3 separate regions of the Homo sapiens genome follow, and regions 1 and 3 are each linked to region 2. Evidence: promoter capture Hi-C in human tissues and cell types (Jung and others, 2019). All regions are on one chromosome and are shown on one strand. Each heading gives the region's core, a stretch centred on a gene start or on the middle of the fragment in contact. The rest is flanking DNA. Distances are from core to core; before and after follow the strand shown. Region 1 overlaps LOC105372224 (a long non-coding RNA gene). Region 2 holds the start of SALL3 (spalt like transcription factor 3). Region 3 has its middle 120 kb from the start of LINC01896.

Region 1 (4,093 bases), core at 1,457-3,956, 71 kb after region 2:
CAAACATGTAAAAGGAACCATCATTTTTCAAAATCTAGGAAGACTTTAAAATGATACTTGGCTCAGCCTCTTGGCGATGTGTGTGCATGTTCCGGAATTCTCGGACATGAGGGTGTCCAACCCATGGACGAGCTGCTCTGACAAGCGATGACAGTGCATTAATTGAGCAGCGAATGCAGTGAGTTGACACTGTTTTATAGATATCTAACTGAAAGCTTATTAATTGAGATTTTGTGTATTTTGAGGGATGGAAACAAAGATCTGGCTCCTGCAGTTAATAAACAATGTAGCAATGCGGCACATGCCCGCGGTAAAGATGTCACAGTGAGCATCCAAACTGATTTAGGGCCGGGCGCTGCGGCTCACGCCTGTAGTCCCAGCACTTTGGGAAGCTGAGGAGGGCGATCACTTGAGCTCGGGAGTTCAGGAACCTGGGCCATTTGGAGAAATCCCATCTCTACAAAAAATACAAAAATTACCTGGCCCTGGTGGCATGGGCCTGTAATCCCAGCTACTCAGGAGGTTGAGGTGGGAGGATTGCTTGACTCAGGAGGTTAAGGCTGCAGTGAGCCGAGATTGTGTCACTGCACTCTAGCCTGGGTGACGGAGTAAGACTCTGACTCAAGAAAAAGTTTTACTTGGCTCATTGTATACAGGCTTATATTATGACATGTTCCAATGACACATTCGAGGTTGTAGGTCAGAGCACAAGACATTGAAAGAATAAATGGAAATATCAGTACAATGGGAAGCAGAGGCGGGAAAGATGAGATGGAAAAGACTTACTCACTGAGGGACCCATGCAGGCCCACAGGCGCTCTGAAGACCTGTGGCAGGCGTGACCATGCACTTCCTGGCAGTCAACGAAAATGACGTACAGCTTCTTTCAAGATTTACAGCTGTCTTGTGAATTACCAGTATGACCAGATAATTATTGAATTGTCTTTATTATTTATACTATTGAATAATGTTGGATCCATACTTCTAACATTGATATAAATAACATCACATTGTCCACTCGACTAATAACATATCAATTGCCCAGTGACAGTGCGTTGATGCTGGAGGAGAAAGTGTCTCATTCCTCACAGGGAGAACGTTGTATGTTTCTTGTTCAGTGTGTGCTTTTGGTCCAATCTAAGGTAGCTAGGCAACAAAACCTTGCTTTGTAGAGCTTATTTCTCGTCGGCACCCCACCTTACAGCCCAAGGGCATTGCCTCGCCCCGTTCAGGATGGGACCGCTTGTTGTTCGGAGTGTGAAGGTCCCATGATTCCTCCCTTCTCTGTTCTCAGGTGTGTAAAATTGGCTTTGTTTGGCATTTTCTCAAAATGGAGGTGAAAAAAAATGATGAGACTTTGCTTAGATCACAAGTGCCGTTAATATTATCCGCCTGTTTCTTGTTGGATGTGTGTTGTTCAGGAAGGCAGACTACCTAAGAATATAAATCTTATTTCTCTCGTTAAGAATCTGTGATTTGGAAGAATCAAACAATATATTCTATTTTTAGCTTTTCAGCCCAAATGTAATCATGAAATCAAGGTGTCCACTGCATGAAAAGTGAATAAGAAATGGCACACTTTTTTAGGATCTTTACAGCACTCTACATTTCTTTTTGCTGAAGAATTTCCTAAATTCATTTAAGATATGTTTTTAAGAGTTTTAATATTTAAATATGAAGAATAGAAAATCTTTTGTCTGAAGGTGCAGCCTCTTAAATACTGCTCTTTGCTGACATTCAGTCGGAAGCAGGGAGCTGTCATTAGGAACCATACAGTTTTAGGAAATCTTGCACTTTTAAGAAAATCATTTTCTCAGGCTGTATGTGTTATGTTGGAATTATAAGTATGTCTAAATTAAGACATAAATCTCCAACACAGGAGCCATCTTTTCATTATATCTCATAGAAGATTGTGCACATTGCTGATACTCAATTAACTAATAATAATAATGCTAATAATAATGTAGCAATAGTCAACTTCCATTTGGTCACACATCCTGCATATACAGTAATTGTGAAAGCATATCATCTCTGAGAGTATGTGTTGTGCTCGGATAAAATGTGTCATCATCACGAAATTAGAGTTAATGGCAGGAAGGGGACCTCTTTGATCAGTCCCTCCAAGGCCCTCTGCACACCTCTTAAGTGTACCTCATTATGAATTCATTTTAAGCTTCATTGAGTCCCAGAAATTAATTTGACATAAATTTCATCATAAGGCTCTGGAAACTTTAATTTCAAAGGTAATGGTAAAGTAGGATTTTCTCCCCGTGTTCGATACAGATACTTTAGACAGATGTTAAAGTGCAGGTTGAGTATACCAGCCGTAAACATTTTTTTCCAAAATGACTCTGATTTAGTAAACACTTTATTTTGCATTTATCTCTCACCTATACTTCTAAAGCATTTTCTGACATCTGGTCTCCTTGATCTCAGCGGGATCGTGATGTGAAATGGTGCCTGGTCTGCTGGGGACAGCACAGGAACGAAAACGTGGAAACGTGGAAACGCGGGTCTCCGGCCGTCCAGCTTTCGCGGGCCCCGTGTTCTTCCCTTCAGTGAAAATACGCTTATACATGCGGCTCCTTCCCTCTCCAGGTCGCACTCACACTCCTTTTAACTTGAAAGCTTCTGTTTTCATCCCGGGATATTCCGGGATCTTATGCAACCCCTTTTTCTTTCTGTTTGCTGTTTGGATTCTTAGTGATGCCTCCTTTTTCCCCATCCATATTTTTTATCTTCATTCTTTTTTTTTTTTGAGACAGGGTCTCACTCTGTCACCCAGGCTGGAGTGCAGTGGCATGAACATGGCTCACTGTAGCCTCAACCAGGCAGGCTCAAGTGAGCCTCCCGCCTCAGCCTGCTGAGTAGCTGGGACCACAGGTGTGCACCACCATGCCTGTCAAATTCCCTCATTCTTCACACTTTTCTATTTGAGACAGCCTCGCTCTGTCACCCAGGCTGGAGTGCAGTGGTATATCTCAGCTCACTGCAACCTCCACCTCTGGGTTCAAGAGATTCTTCTGCCTCAGCCTCCTGAGTAGCTGGGAATACAGGTGTGTGCACCGCCATGCCCAGCTAATTTTTGTAGTTTTGGTAGAGATGGGGCTTCGCCATGCTGGCCAGGCTGGTCTTGAACTCCTGACCTCAGGTGATCCCCCGTCTCAGCCTCCCAAAGTGCTGGGATTACAGGCGTGAGCCACCGCACCCAGCCTCCCCCCGCTTTTTTTTTTGAGACAGGGTCTCATTTTGTCTCCCAGGCTGGAATGCAGTGGCATGATCTTGGCTCACTGCAACCTCTGACTCCCAGGTTCAAGCAATTCTCCTGCCTCAGCCTCCCCAGTAGCTGAGATTACAGGTGCATGCCACCACACCCGGCTAATTTTTTGTATTTTTAGTAGAGACGGGGAGCTGAGATTACAGGTGCGTGCCACCACACCTGGCTAATTTTTTGTATTTTTAGTAGAGACGGGGTTTCACCATGTTGACCAGCCTGGTCTCGAACTCCTGACCTCGAGTGATCCACCTGCCTTGGCTTCCCAAAGTGCTGGTATTACAGGCGTGAGCCACCGCGCCCAGCATTTTTTTTTTTTTTTCACCTCTTTCTGATATCTTCTGGAAGGTACTTTGACCCAACTCTTCCTCACTATTCCTCCTTCTATTCTTTTAGAATTCTTGGATGTGTCTACAGTATGTGGAACAGGTGGGCAGGAGTTTCCGAGAGAAAAGCTCTGTTCAGTGTGGAGCTTTCAGCAAGGGATTCCTGCGGGAGAAGTGCAGGTGGCACCTGGAGAGACAGAGCTTCTTCTGGGGCTTGGAGGGTCTTGAATGTGAGCCAACAGATTTTAGAATTTTTTACTTGCAAAACTTTAAAAACACACAGATATGCATAAAGAAAAAACATGACGATAATAAAAAAAAATTCTACAATTGGAGGTAACTGTTACCCAACTTTTTTTTTTTCCTTTTTAGACAGGGTCTTGCTCTGTCACCCAGGCTAGAGTGCAGTGACACAATCATAGCTCATTGTAAGCTCGAACTCCTGGGCTCAAGCCATCCTCCTGCCTCAGCCTCCCCTGTAGCTGGGACCACA
Region 2 (4,190 bases), core at 158-2,657:
CCCCAAACTTTGCGGGGCTAAGGCGCCACTCTGGGAAGTCCAGCCCTTTGCCAGTCTCTTAACTTTCGCGGCGCCTGCCCTTTGCTCTTGGATGTTTCGAAGAGGACGCTCCTACCAGCGAAATGACTGCAAAGCCGAGGTCTCCAGCGCCCGGCCTCGGCGGATCCAAAAAGACGGGAGAGAAAAGGCCCGCGCAGACGCTGCAACGAACGCCCCGGAAACACGCCGCGAGCAGGGGCCAGGCCCAGGCCGCCGCCGCTGCGCTCACCCCCAGCTTAATTCCCCGGGCGGCCATTAGGCAGAGCCAAGCCCCCGACCTTCTCCTCGCCTCGCGAGGGATCACAGGCTGCGTCAACGCGCTGGGACACCGCGGGTCACCCGAGGCGGTGCGGGGGCCCGGGAGGGGCCGCGGGCCCCCGAACAAAGCTGGCCGGGCGGCGGGGTCCCCAACCCGCGTCCAGCGGTAGGTGGGCTGCGGTCGCCTTCCCCGCCGCCGCCGGCCTCAGCGTCCTGGCGCAGAGACCCTGGGGGGCGGCGCGGCGGCGGAGGCACCGTGGACTCCCTCCCGCCCCGGCCTCCGAGCCGTCCTCGAGCCGGCCGCGGCCTCGGCGCCCTTCGCGGGCAGCTCCCCGACTCCGAGGAGAGGAGCCAAGTTTACTTCGCCCACAACTCTCTCGGCGGCCGCGCGCGCTCCGGCGAAGTACCCGGGGCCCCGCGGCCGGCCTGGCGCGGGGCGGACGCTTGCCCGCAGGAAGCAGGGAACTTTCTCCCGCTCCCGGACGCGCGCATCCGCTCCCGCCGCACGCGCTTCCCCAGCCCGGACGGGCAGCCCCAGACCCCCCGGCCACCCCGCAGCCCCGGCCCTCACCGTGCTCGGGAGCCCCGTCAGGCGGCAGCAGCTCCTCGTCCGACTTGAGGTGCTGGGGCTTGGCCTGCTTGCGCCGAGACATGCTGCTAGCGGCGCTCGGGCCCCGCGCGGGGCAGCGGCATCAGCGGGGCGGCCGGCGGGGACGGCGCGGGGCGGCCTGGCGGGCGCGCGGCGCGGGGCGCGGGGCGGCGGCGGCTGCGCGGGCCGCGCATGGGGCTGAGCAATTAGGCTGGTGAATAATGCATGGCCATTAGCGGAGGGCCGCGCCGATTGGCCGGGCTCCAGCGGACTCCGGCGGCCTATGCAAATGAGGCCGCGCTCGCAATTAGCGGCCGCGCCGACGAGGAGGGGGCCGCGGCGCCTCGGGACCGGGGCGCGCGCTGCCCGGCGCCGCCTCACATCGCGGGCTCCGGCGCCGCGCTCCTCGGCCGCCCCGGGTGCGGCTGTGGCGGGGCCCGGGTGCGGCGCGGGCCGCGGTGGCCGTCCCTCCGCAGGGCGCAGGCAGCAAACTTTGGCGGCGTCCGCGCGGCGCCGTCTCCGCCGGCGCGCCGGGCTCGCCCCTTTATAGAGTGTCTGCGCCGCCGCCCGCGCCCCCCCCGCCGCCGCCGCCGGGCGGCCCCTCCCGGAGCGAGCGGCCGCGGGCAGGGCTCCGACCCGGCGCCTTTGTCTCGCCCGGGCCGCTCGGGCGCCGCGCCTCCTGTTCCGGGCGCGCGGGGTCGGCCGGCCGCCTTCGCTGCTCCGCCGCGGCTCTCAGCGCCGCTCAGCGCGGCGGGCCCGCCCGGGCTCAGGTGCCCCCCGCTCTCCGGACCTTCTCGCCCGGCCCCGCGTCCCCTCCGCGGGCTTCCCCCGGCGGCCGGCCGGGCTCGGAGGCTCGCGGCCGGAGCGGAGCGGAGTGCGCACGCCGGGGTGGCAGGACTTCGGCAAGACCAACTTTCCGGTTCGGAAGCGGCGCGGGCCGCGCGGCTCCTCCCCTCCTCTCCCTCCCCTGCGTTCCCCCTCCCTTCCACTCCCCCCTCTCCCCGCCCCCCAACCCGCGGGCCCCACCGACTCCGGAGCGCCCGCCCCGCCCGCTGCTGCCACCGGGCCGCCTCGCCCCCGCGCCAGCCCGCCTGGGCCTCTGCGCCGCCGGCGGCTTCTTAAATACAGGAAAGGGAGGGGACCGCAGGGCCCCGGTGTTCCCCACCCTAGTCCCCCTTCACCACGGGCCACCGGGCGCCAGCGGAGTGGGCAGCGAGCGCGACCGAAAGTTCCAACTCCACCAAACTCCCGCGCGCGGCCCACCCTTTCCCGGGATTTCGGGGATGACACGGGGGCCAGGTGAGGGGGCTGCGCACTTCTGGATCGGCCCCACACACTCGGCCCCTGGCGCGGCGCGCTCCCCGCACACGCGCCCGCCCCCTCCCCGCGGTCACACGCACGCGCCCTCGCCCTCGCCCCGCGCGCACAGGCGCGTACTCCCACCCGCGGCCGTGCACCCGCCGCGCTCCTTCCCGCGCGTGTCCTCTCTCCCCGAGCGGCCGCCAGGATGTGCCCCCGGCCCCGTCGTCGCCGCGCCCGCGCCCCTCGCCCCAGTACGTCTTTTTTCGTTTCCTAAATTTCTTATTTTTGTCCTTGCAAGTGGTCCTGTCTGGTGTGAACCGTCAGCACAGATGGCCTCCTGGAGCTTCCCCGAGTCGTTCGCTGGGGGAAGCGGGCGGTGAGCGGCCAGCCCGGGCGCTCCGCAGGCCGCGAGCTCCCGGCAGGGCTGGTGGCGGGGGTCCGCCTGGGGGAGGAATCCCCGCCTGCTCCATCGGACCCGGCCTGGCGCGGCTCGCGGCGCTCGGCGGGCTCCCTTCCATTCTAGAATCTTCCCGCTTGCTTCCCAGCCCGCGTTCTTCCGCCTGCCTTTAATTGTGTAAGTTTGACGAAGTCAGAGCTTTGGGTTCCAGGAAAAGCGCAGGAGGGTCATAGAGGAAGGGAGGGCGCAGGTTGGAGTCAGGTCCAAACAGTCCCTATCGCCACTTTTGAAAAAAAAAAAAAACAACAAAAACCCTTAAGGTTGGTTTTATTTTGCCTTTTGGTAGCGGGCGTATTCATTTAGATTTTTTTTTCAAGACAGGCAAATAAAAGGTGTTTGAAATCTCTAGTTATCCCGTTTAACACACCCATCGATGGCGCTTTTCTAGTTAAGCTACGGGGGAAACGTCTTTATCCCGCAGTTAGGCTGCGAACTTGTGCAGATGCTCAGGCTTTGTGGAGACGCTCCGGCATCTGGCGCAGAGGCGCCCGGCGGGGAAAAGTTTGCAGCCCGGGCTTTGGGGCGCGCGGGGGGCAGGAATTTTTCTGAGAAGAGAGGGGCATAGAGAGGCGGCGCGGGTGGGGAGAGAAAAAAGGAACGCAGGGGGGAGGGGGAAAAGCAGCTTGCAGGATGGGAGTTTCTTGCAGAATTTACAGGATTAAGGAGTTTGGGGAAGTCGCAGAGCTGCAGCGGAAAGGCAGGGGTCTGAGACTACTTTTGAGAAGAGAAACAACGCAAAACGATCGCTGGAGGGCCAGAGCCCTGGTCGAAGGTGCCCTAGCTTTTATGACCTGGTTAATTGTGTCTCCTTTTTATTTTTATTTTTTTCCTTACCACTACTACTACTACTACTTTTATTTTTTTTTAACCGATACACTTTGGAGAGAAGAAGCAGACACAGGTTCCCACGGCGTCTGACGCCTGCGGAGCAAGTCCAGAGCCAGCTGGACTCGCAGCCTCTGGCCCGGCGGCACCAACTCCTCACTGGGTCATTTTGAGCGCGCTGTGCCCACCTTTTCTGTTGCGTAAGGCCCGCTCCCCCTGTCCCGCAACCCTCTCTCCAACAAACCGGCACGATGTCTTTAGGTCTTTCTGGGGCTTCCAAATGCAACTGTTTAATTTCATCGATCTGTTTTGCATTTCCTACAAGGTGTGGACGTGGGGAGGATCTTCTAAGTCCCTCCAACGAAGGCAAGTGTGAGACTCTGGCCCTTTATTTGTAAGAAGCAAGCCTTCAGATTGCAGAAGTGTCGCGCGGGTCGCCGTGCGTTGCGCGAGTGGGAAGATGGAGGAGGCCGGCACGCTGCTTTCGTGGACGCAAGTGAACCGGGCGTGAAGGCAGGGTGCGAGCTCTGCCCTTGGCCCAGCCCTGCGTGGGCGCCGTCCCAGATTCCGGGCGGTGCGGGGTGCAGAGATCTGGAGAGACTTGCGGGCTCCCCAGCGCAGGCTGCTCTGGGATTTCGTTGGAAGATCCGGCAGAGCCTTGGAGGAGAGGGCCCGGGAGGCTGTGTGTGCAGCGGAAACTTGTACGAATGCCCCCACAGC
Region 3 (3,737 bases), core at 515-3,014, 120 kb after region 2:
AATTTTTTTCAAAGAACAGAACCAGCCAGTCCTTGTCCACAGCTATTTCCCCACCCTCATCTGCAGGACGGGCCTTCCCATGGGTGTGGGTGTGGTCTCCGTGTCCACCTGCAGCCAGCCCGAGTCACAGGCAGGAGGAATGCAGCCGCGCCACCCAGCAGGTGTTTGTGAGGAGTCCAGGCAAATCTCGCCATCAGTGGCGAGATTTCCTTGCATCAGGAAATGCAGTCTTTGGTAATGGGGAAATCTGGGGCCTCCCAAGGTTTTTGTAAAGATGAGAAGGTGACACTTCCCAGATGTGCCTTGGAGAATGGCTTGGAGCCTGGTTTACGAGTTGACTTGTTGTCAGACCTTGCCATGGAGCTCTCTCTGGCTTCTTTGCCTCATGAAGTTGATGCCCAAACTCATCCCCCGACCAGGTTCCTTTGGGAAGTGACTGGATTGACCCTCCCTCCCTCCCTCCCTCCCACTGCTGGTACCAATGGCATGTCTATGTCTAACCTCTGAACACAAGCTTTACATGACCTGGAAGGCAAACTGTCCTAGGAAATCGTTTTGCAAATGCCAAGTGATACGTTTCTTATATTGTCCAATATTTTGCGTGGAACATGTCCGCTTCTGTAACCTTCCATGAAAGTGCTGACCCTGTAACGGTTGTGTCTGGTCATTCACTGGAAAACTGTGAAATAAAAACAAGGTGCCCATTCAGGAGGGCACGGCACCCTCCAGACAGTCACGGCACCCTCCAGACAGTCATGGCACACTCCAGACAGTCACGGCACACTCCAGACAGTCATGGCACACTCCAGACAGTCATGGCACGCTCCAGACAGTCCAGAGACTCCAGACAGTCCAGGGAGAAGCTTTCTGCCTCTGGACAGGTACCTCCGAGGGTTCCCTTATGAGTGCAGCCAAGGACTCACTCCCCAAGGATCACACCTGGGTCACAGAGAAAAAAGTTTTTTGCTTTCTCTTTCTGAAGCCAAACGATCACAGATTCTCAACTTAATTTGGCAATAAGACTGTAGCTCATAACTGGGGTTCAACGTGGGGTGGCCTTTGTTACTCAGAGTTCTTCAAAGAGACTCTCCTGGCACCGGGAGGTTGTTCGAGGCCATGCATTCTGGTTCTTACTAATCTGCTGAACTGGAATGAGTAGTTCTGAATCCCTTTACAATCTGACACTTCACCCGGGAAATCACACAGCCTCTTTTTAGAGGCTTTAATTCCTACCCACTGGAATCCACGGGCAACGGTGAGTTGAGAATGGTGTTTCTTTTATTTTAACTCCAAAAATAATCTGCCCTGGTAGCAAATGGGATGCTTTCGCCACTCCTCACGTAAGGTCGAAAGTTAGCAGCTGCTTTTGACTGTTGTGTGAGGCCGAGGGACCGCCGAGGACACGCCCCGAGGAGCCTGGGTCCCGCTCTTGAGTGCAGTGGGCTCTGGAGAGGAGGAGGAGGTGTGGATAGGAGAGCAACTCACCTTCGTCTCTCTGTCAGTGATGAAAACACATGAAGCTTGCCCTTTTGTAATGTCAACAGAAAATTATGCCTCCAACACAAACCCAGGCCATTAAGGAGGCGGCTTTTATTCCTGCTCATAACGTGGGGAACAGAAGGCGGGGCACCATGCGCCTCCCCAGCTGTTGCCGGGGAAGCCGGCGCGGAGCCGGCCGCATCTGGATGGCGTCTTTGAAGAGGCATTAATCTGTGGCTGAGGGACGCTAAGCCTCTCTGCTTTTCTTTGCTGCTTCTCAGGCTAATGCTGCTTCTGCAAAGCTGTAGCGACTTCATGTCCACGGGGGAGATGAAGGAACAATTACAGACGGTGATACCAAGATGCATTTGGGCAAAAATAAAGGGCAGGACAGAAGCGCTGTGCCTTGATCAGTCCGGCAGAAGATTCGCTTTTCCCCGCCTGAAAGGTGCCGCCCAGCTGGCAGCGCAATGGCAGGAGCCCGGGCTACGCGAGCGCGGGGTGGATGTTGGAGGGGAAGGCCGGGAGCTGGCTCCGTGGAAAAGGCTCCTGCGTGTCTCGGAACATGTTGCTGGGTCGGTGGATTTCGCTGCTCATTTTTGTGGATGAAACATGCATGTTACATTACATAAGGGATCAGGTGGAAGAATGAACAGGTTGGCTTAAGCACACGTCCTGGCTGGTGCTCGGAGAGTGGGCATTTCTTTCTGCCACACTGAGGAGCTGCCTCCTCAGACGGACGTGACATGACTTTCTCGGCTTCTCACTGTCACAGCGCGAGAGGCGGGGGCCTGAGACCCGACGCTGCCCAGGTCACAGCAGCGGGCGGCGTGCCGGCAGGTGCGCGCCTGTTAGACCCGGCGTGAGTGTAGTTTAACAACGAATCTGCAGGCTGCCTGCCGTCATGCACGTGGCCATCGCTTCAGCTTTGCTCCTTTCCAGGTTTCGGGATGCTCGGGGTGAATGGGGAGGCGGCCGCCCCAAGGGAGGACCCAGGCAGCGTCGGCCTCCCGCTTGGGGTCCCTTCCCAGACCCTCGCCTGAACGAGTGGGACAGCTCCTGCCCCCCAGCGCGTCCCCAGGCTCCGGGATGGTCACTGTCCAGGAGGCGCTTGGCCCTGCTCACCCGCCCGTTCTGCCCATCCCTTGAGAACTCCGCGATTTCGAAACTTTCCTGATCTTTCTGCCGGAAGTAATTTGTTCTACGTGAAACCACGGGCCACTCCTTCATATCTGTAGAGCGCTCTACCTTCTGTAACGTTTATCTGCGAAACTGCTGCGTTAGGCCAGGAGCACTCCAAGAGCGAGAGGCAGACGCCGTCTGACTTTTCACCCTGACAGGGGACTTTTCCACCTGGCAGTGCCAATATCCGGCTCCTACGCATTCTCCATGGAGGATCACCAGGTCAGCCCATGGGAGGGAGGCAGGAAGGGTGACCTTGCCCGTGAGGCTTAGTGGAAAGAATGATGAAGGGCTGCAGGTGGCTCCTTGAGGGTCCCCGAAAACTTCCTCTGGGGTAGGGTAGGAAGGTGGTCAGGGAAGCCTGAAAGGCAGTTTCAGCTTCAGTTCTTCAGCTCCTTGTGGGAACAACCCCAGCAGAAATAAACACTGTGCTTTGGGTTAAAAGATAAAATCATGAGGACTTGACCAAAAACAGGATTTCACGGGCTTTCGTCCCCCTGTTGCAATGACACTGATGCTCTCTGGAAGGGACCCTTAGTGTCAGGACTTCCTCCAGTGGGTGATTGTGGGGAGTAAGCCCAATAACCAGTTAGCACTTCCTCCAGTGGGTGACGATGGGGAGTAAGCCCAATAACTAGTGAGCACTTCCTCCAGTGGGTGACGATGGGGAGTAAGCCCAATAACTAGTGAGCACTTCCTCCAGTGAGCAGTGAGCACTTCCTCCAGTGGGTGACGATGGGGAGTAAGCCCAATAACTAGTGAGCACTTCCTCCAGTGGGTGACGATGGGGAGTAAGCCCAATAACTAGTGAGCACTTCCTCCAGTGGGTGACGATGGGGAGTAAGCCCAATAACTAGTGAGCACTTCCTCCAGTGAGCAGTGAGCACTTCCTCCAGTGGGTGACGATGGGGAGTAAGACCAATAACCAGTGAGCACTTCCTCCAGTGGGTGACGATGGGGAGTAAGCCCAATAACCAGTTAGCACTTCCCCCAGTGGGTGACGATGGGGAGTAAGCCCAATAACCAGTTAGCACTTCCTCCAGTGGGTGATGATGGGGAGTAAGCCCAATAACCAG

Evidence for each region. Contacts are between HindIII fragments. The study calls those that stand out against the background at their distance.
Region 1: a contact is called between a fragment that was not itself captured here and the fragment with the promoter of SALL3 in region 2, in 4 of the 25 tissues and cell types used here (H1 embryonic stem cells, hippocampus, pancreas and 1 more).
Region 3: a fragment that was not itself captured here is called in contact with the fragment with the promoter of SALL3 in region 2 in 4 of the 25 tissues and cell types used here (H1 embryonic stem cells, heart left ventricle, pancreas and 1 more).

The regions. Positions count from the first base shown.
Region 1 is chr18:78,907,094-78,911,186 of GRCh38, reverse strand. LOC105372224 (a long non-coding RNA gene) reads left to right here. Exons shown (of 4, transcript XR_935678.3): 4 at 2,437-2,575. Among named protein-coding and RNA genes, the nearest start is that of LINC01896, 71 kb to the left of the region's middle. RefSeq lists an enhancer at 173-1,372. The HindIII fragment of the contact is 3,023 bases long and covers 1,195-4,093 here.
Region 2 is chr18:78,977,035-78,981,224 of GRCh38, reverse strand. SALL3 (spalt like transcription factor 3) reads right to left here and starts at 1,407. Exons shown (of 3, transcript NM_171999.4): 1 at 869-1,407. The coding sequence starts at 950. It overlaps LINC01896 (long intergenic non-protein coding RNA 1896), which reads left to right and starts at 1,534. Exons shown (of 5, transcript NR_187297.1): 1 at 1,534-2,185; 2 at 2,487-2,762; 3 at 3,293-3,417; 4 at 3,535-3,670; 5 at 3,796-4,190. RefSeq lists an enhancer at 3,845-4,190. The HindIII fragment of the contact is 21,440 bases long and covers 1-4,190 here.
Region 3 is chr18:78,855,678-78,859,414 of GRCh38, reverse strand. No RefSeq gene overlaps it. Among named protein-coding and RNA genes, the nearest start is that of LINC01896, 120 kb to the left of the region's middle. The HindIII fragment of the contact is 3,713 bases long and covers 1-3,620 here.